Regions from separate parts of the Homo sapiens genome. Here region 1 is linked to region 2. Evidence: promoter capture Hi-C in 16 types of primary human blood cells and fetal thymus (Javierre and others, 2016). All regions are on one chromosome and are shown on one strand. The core of a region is centred on a gene start or on the middle of the fragment in contact, and the rest is flanking DNA. Distances in the headings are between cores, read along the strand shown.

Region 1 (2,700 bases), core at 122-2,621, 560 kb after region 2:
GGTGGCGGGCGCCTGTAGTCCCAGCTACTGGGGAGGCTGAGGCGGGAGAATGGCGTCAACCAGGGAGGCGGAGCTTGCACTGAGCCGAGATGGCGCCACTGCACTCCAGCCTGCGCGACAGAGGAAGACTCTGTCTCAAAAAAAAAAAAAAAAATTAAGCAGGCTTGGTGGCGGGCGCCTGTAATCCCAGCTACTTGGGAGGTTGATACAGGAGAATTACTTGAACCTGGGAGTGGGAGGTTGCAGTGAACTGAGATGGCACCACTGCACTCCAGCCTGGGCAACGGAGTAAAACTCTGTCTAAAAAAAAAAATTACCCAGGCTTCGTGGCGAGCACCTGTACAGTCTTAGCTACTCTGGAGGCCCAGGTGGAAGGACTGCTTAAGCCCGGGAGTTCCAGGCTACAGTGAGCTATGATGCCGCCACTGCACTCAGCCTAGACAACAAAGCGAGACCCTGTCTCTAAAACAAAAACACCAAAAAAAGCCCCCAGAGTGTAGTGACCACGCAGAGGTGAGGACTCAGAGGCGGGTATGGCAGGGCCAGAGCCCCCATCACAGCTCCTTTCTAGGCTGCATCTGGGAGCCACGCAGGGGCTCAGCCTCGTCGTCGCAGTTGAGAAGGCAGTTCAGAGAGGAAACTGCTAAGCAGGTAGCTGGAGGTGGCAGAGGGTACCGGGATGGGACAGGAACAGAGAAGTCCCCATGGGACTGAGCACCCGATACTCCACCTGGGTCCGTTTGTGTCTGACATTTCGCCACCTCCGGATCCTGGGCAGCCGGACCCCACAGTTCGGCCTCCTCCTCCACCCAGGAGATGAGAGCTGGCTTGTTGCCTCCGATTCCTAGGGAAGAAGAACGCAAACCCCACGCTGCGGGGAGGCCACCTGCCCGGCCCCGGGGCCCCCAACTTCACGCGCAGCTCCCAGAGGCGCGGCAGGGCCTGTGGGGGCGCAGGGCTCAGGCGAGCAGGTGGGGCTCTCACCGAGAGCGCTCAGGTGGCCGTAGGTCTCCCGCATCACGTCCCGGTACAGGGCCCTCTGCGCTGGCCGCAAGCAGCCCCACTCCTCCCGGCAGAAGTACACGGCCACGTCCGCGAAGCTCACAGCCCCCGGCTCCCTCCACTCGGGTCCGGCCCCGTTTGGGTCCCGGGGAGGGAGCGGGGCCAGAGGCGGCGCCATGGTAACTGTCAACCCCGACGACGGATCGGCTGCCTCCCCTGGCCTGGCCTGGGCCTGCGGAACCTCCTGCGCCCGAGAAAGCCTCCCCGGCCCGGGCCCAAGGGAAGGAGGGAGGTTACTAGGGCCCCCGAGGGCGCACTAGAGGGCGTGGAAACTAACGGTGCCGATGGCAGCGGGTGTATAATCAGAAATGGAATATGCCCTCATAAAAAATGGCGGCGGCGCGGGTACTCGACCTTTGCCCCTACGCAGTCGTGCCCAAGACAACGCCCCCGGTATCTCCAGTCCGCGTTCTCTCCGTACCCTCATCCAAAATGGCCGCGGTGACTAATACAGAGGCCGGCCTTGAAAACTAGCCGCGCATGTTTAGTCCCCGGCCCGGCGAGGCGGTGCAGCAGAGAGCTCCGCCCCGGCCCGGCGAGGCGGTGCAGCAGAGAGCTCCGCCCCGGTTTGCACGAACAAAAGAGCGCCTCGCGGGAGTGAGCTGGCCTCCCGGCCTTACTGAACTCAGGCATTAGTTTTCGTTTGTGGACCGTTTTATAATCGGGCTCCAGCTCATCACTCTCTCGTTTTGTCCTTGTTATCTCAGAAACAGGGCAACAGCAGTCTCTTCCCAATGTTGAGTGTAAAAAAACCAATGGAGTGGGCGTGGCGCAGTGGCTCACGCTTGTAATCAGCAGTTTGGGAGGCCGAGGCCAGCGGAACAACTGAGGTCAGAAGTTCGAGACCAGCCTCACCAACATGGTGAAACCCCGTCTCCACTAAAAACACACAAAAAAACAGCCAGGTGTGGTGGCGTGCACCTGTAATCCCAGCTACTGGGGAGGCTGAGGCAGGAGTATCGCTTGAACGCGCGAGGCGGAGTTTGCAGTGAGCCGAGATTGCCTCACCGCACTCCAGCCTGGGCGACAGAGCGAAACTCTGTCTCAAAAATAAAAAAGAAAGAAAGAAAGAAAAAGGAGTGGATACAGGAGAACCTCCTCCATCGTAGGCTTGTTGGGGCCTGAAATTCTGGAAGTTTCTAGATGGCGGAGGCAGTGGGGAGAGTAGGGTAAGGTTGAGAAAGTCAGAGGGTCCTCTCTTCTAGGAGCTTCTCCCATGTGCTGCTCAGGACGCCTCCCAATTGCCAGTCTCCCTGTAGCTGCAGCCGGGCTCTCACCTCCCCTCACATCCTGCCCCTGGACAGATGGCCCAAGGCTCCTCTACTCAAATCCAACTCATCCCTTTCTTGCCCCAATCTGCTTCCCCTAGGGTCTTTATCTAGTAAATGTCACCAACTCTCCCCCAGACCTCTCTCTCACTTTCTGATGGTCTATTCTGTGCTCCACGTGACTTCATACATGTCCTGTTGTAGCAGGACAAGCCACAGACAAAACCCCTCAGACACCGAGTTGAAGGAAGGGTTTTATTCGGCTGGGAGCATCGGCAAGACTCACATCTCAAAAACCGACTCCCCGAGTGAGCAATCCCTGTCCCTTTTAAGGGCTCACAACTCTAAGGGGGTCCCCGTGAGAGGGTCG
Region 2 (2,781 bases), core at 101-2,600:
TCCTCGCTGTCTGAGTCTCCCAAGAGCCTCTTTGCCTGGCTTTTCTGCTTACAGCTCCTCTCCTCCCTAGCTGACTTTCTCCGGCCATTGCTCCTGGTTCTGGGTTTCCAATCCCCCTTTTCCTCATCCTCTTCTTTCTCTTCCTCCTCCACTTCCTCCTCTCTCTGCTCTTTCTTCTGGGCTAGGATCTCCTCTTCACTCTCCTGTTCACTTTCCTTCAGGCTTTTAGTTCCTTTATTTCCCTCCACCTTCTTTGCTGTCCTCTGAACGGGTTCTGCCTCGCTCTCCTCACTTTCTTCCCTGGCCTGCTTCCTACTGACTGAGGCCTTGCCTGGTGCCTGCTTCTTTACCACAGGTTTCTTCCTAGTCTTCCCCTTGTACCCCTTTTCCTCCTCCTCACTGCTCTCCTCTCCCCTCTGTGCGGGCAGGTCCCTCTGCCGTTCCTCATCACTGCTCTCCTCAACTGCCTTTGAGGCTCGCCTTGGATTCTCCTCTTTGGCTGGGCTGACTTCTGCTGCCACCCCATTCTTTGCTGGGGGTCCAAAGTAGTCTGGGCTGGAGGCTTCAGAGCCGGACTCTGGAATATGGAGAGGAGAGAGGGTTGAGACAGGCTCCTCCTGTCCCTTCTCCCTTCACTTCGGATAGGTTGCCTCGAGCCCTGCCCTGACAGTTGGAGGGGCAGCAGGAAACAGCTATCTGTACTTGCTGTTCCCGGTTCCTGACTCACTAGCCTTGCTCCCTCATCTAACGCCTGGGGACATAAGAGATGCGCAGTGAATGCTTCTTGAGTGAACCAACGATGCAGAAGGCCCCCACAGCAGGGAGGAAGCACTAACCCGACTCTGAATTGAAGCGGAACCTTTTTCTCTCCGGGTCGCTACAAGGGGTGGGAGGCCTCTTGCCCTTCTTGGTAAGGTCCAGTTTGTCTTCCCTGGAAGCGGCTTCATCCACCTGTGTGTGCGCCAAGAGGGCAAACTATGCACCAAGGCTGCGCTCACCGCGCCCCGTCAGGCCCCTCCTCCTCAGCAGCAAGCCCCGCCTCCGCCTCCCGCGGCCCAGGCTCCGGCCCGGCACACCTGCATCTTCAGCAGCTCCTCCTCCACCAGCCGCTTCAGTGCCTGCTTCTCCTCGGGCTCCAGGTGGCTGCGGCCCGAGTGAGCTAAGTACCTCCGCCGCACGATGGAATGCGTAAGCGTGCTGCAGGGACATGGTGTCAGGACGGAGTCCCGACCCACCCGCGCCCTTTCCAACCCCATCTCCAACCCCCTGGGCACCTGAGGTCCGGGCGGCCTCGGAAGAAGCTACGGGTGAACTCCTGCATCTCCTTCTCCCGCGCCATTTTGCTCAACCCGGGATTGACGGCTCCCGCCTTTTTTTCTTCTCGGCCTCCGTCAGCGCGTTTGACAGCGGCTCGCGCACGCGCAGTGCTGCGGCAACGTGGGGCGAGGGACCGTTGGCCCTTGGCCGCGGACCGCGTGGGCCGAGAACTTTGCCAGACGAGACTTGTTTTCTCTGGGCAGTTGGAGGGTCTCGCGGCTCCTACCCTTTTTTGGAACGGATCATTTTAAAAGTTCTCGTTAGAAACCAATTCGGCGCCGGCACCCTTTGGGTGAAACCTAATCAGCCCGCGACGCTGCCTTTCTCACTGGTCACGGGCAACAGCTAGGCTGCTGTTATTTCGCAAGGCAGAAGAGAAAAGGCATCCTCGCGAGCAGATGAGGAACCTCGGGGATAAATCCTTTTGTGGCTTCAAGTGTCTAAGTACATTAGAGTCAGGAACGGCGCTTTCCAGCGTCCGCCATTTTTGTGGCGTCACCGCGTCGCTGCTACGCCATCCCCAGCGCAGTGGCTGCCGCGCTCCTGTCCCAGTGTCCCCCGGGAGGTCGGCCCGTGCGGTGACGCCCCTGAGCGCGGGGTACGCCGGGAGTTGTAGTCCTGACGGCACAGCCTTGCAGCGTCTCCGGAAGTGGAGGCGGGAGCGGCACGGCAGCCACTGCTTGGGGTAGCGGGAGGGCAGACTCTGGGCGCCACTCCCGGGCCGGTCATGAACGGGCCGGCGGACGGCGAAGTGGACTACAAAAAAAAATACCGGAATCTGAAGCGGAAGCTCAAGTTCCTCATCTACGTGAGTGCTGCCGCGGGAAGGCTGTGGGGGATGAGGCCTGGCGCGGACAAGATCTCAGTTTACCCAGGTGTAAAGTGGGTGGGGCGAGCGGCCGCTGGTTCCGGGGCCCTTCACGGAGGACCGTTGGCCCAGCGCACCCCTTGCCCGTGATACAGGAGCACGAGTGCTTCCAGGAGGAGCTGAGGAAAGCGCAAAGGAAATTACTGAAGGTGTCCCGGGACAAGAGGTGAGGCACGTTGCAGGGGCGGAGGGCGATGTGCTTCCTAGGAAATCTACATTCGGACCCCATCCCCGAGTAGGGCCACAAGTGCATGGGCTCTTTCAAGTATCCGATGGGCCAGCTGGGAGGGACAGGTACCCAGGAGGACATTGCTGCGCTGGAAAATCACTGTCCGTGTCTCCTTCCCTCCCCTCAGTTTCCTCCTAGACCGACTTCTGCAGTACGAGAACGTGGATGAAGACTCTTCGGGTGAGCAAGGTCTTCAAAAATTGGTGGAGAGCATGGTTCCTGGTACTTAGCAAGCTTCCTGGGCCCCCGCCTTTTAGGCAGTGGTGGCTGATGCAGCCCCCAGTGGTCCTTAAGCCTAGTTGCTTGCCTTCCACCTCCACCGTTCTTTCATTCAGGCACTTACTGAGCACCTATTGTGTTTCAGGCA

Evidence for each region. The method cuts DNA at HindIII sites, captures the fragments that hold promoters and counts their contacts. A CHiCAGO score of 5 or more calls a contact.
Region 1: a contact is called between the fragment with the promoter of ZNF764 here and the fragment with the promoter of HIRIP3 in region 2, in 6 of 17 cell types (non-activated CD4 T cells, fetal thymus, naive CD4 T cells and 3 more). The highest score is 6.5, in non-activated CD4 T cells.

The regions. Positions count from the first base shown.
Region 1 is chr16:30,557,003-30,559,702 of GRCh38, forward strand. ZNF764 (zinc finger protein 764) reads right to left here and starts at 1,372. Exons shown (of 3, transcript NM_001172679.2): 1 at 985-1,372; 2 at 731-844. The coding sequence starts at 1,180. RefSeq lists enhancers at 260-821, 1,362-1,501. The HindIII fragment of the contact is 20,167 bases long and covers 1-2,700 here.
Region 2 is chr16:29,994,267-29,997,047 of GRCh38, forward strand. It overlaps HIRIP3 (HIRA interacting protein 3), which reads right to left and starts at 1,351. Exons shown (of 7, transcript NM_003609.5): 1 at 1,275-1,351; 2 at 1,077-1,197; 3 at 837-951; 4 at 1-577. The coding sequence starts at 1,339. It overlaps INO80E (INO80 complex subunit E), which reads left to right and starts at 1,975. Exons shown (of 7, transcript NM_173618.3): 1 at 1,975-2,125; 2 at 2,281-2,351; 3 at 2,542-2,594. The coding sequence starts at 2,045. RefSeq lists enhancers at 1,699-1,868, 1,929-2,058. The HindIII fragment of the contact is 4,684 bases long and covers 1-2,646 here.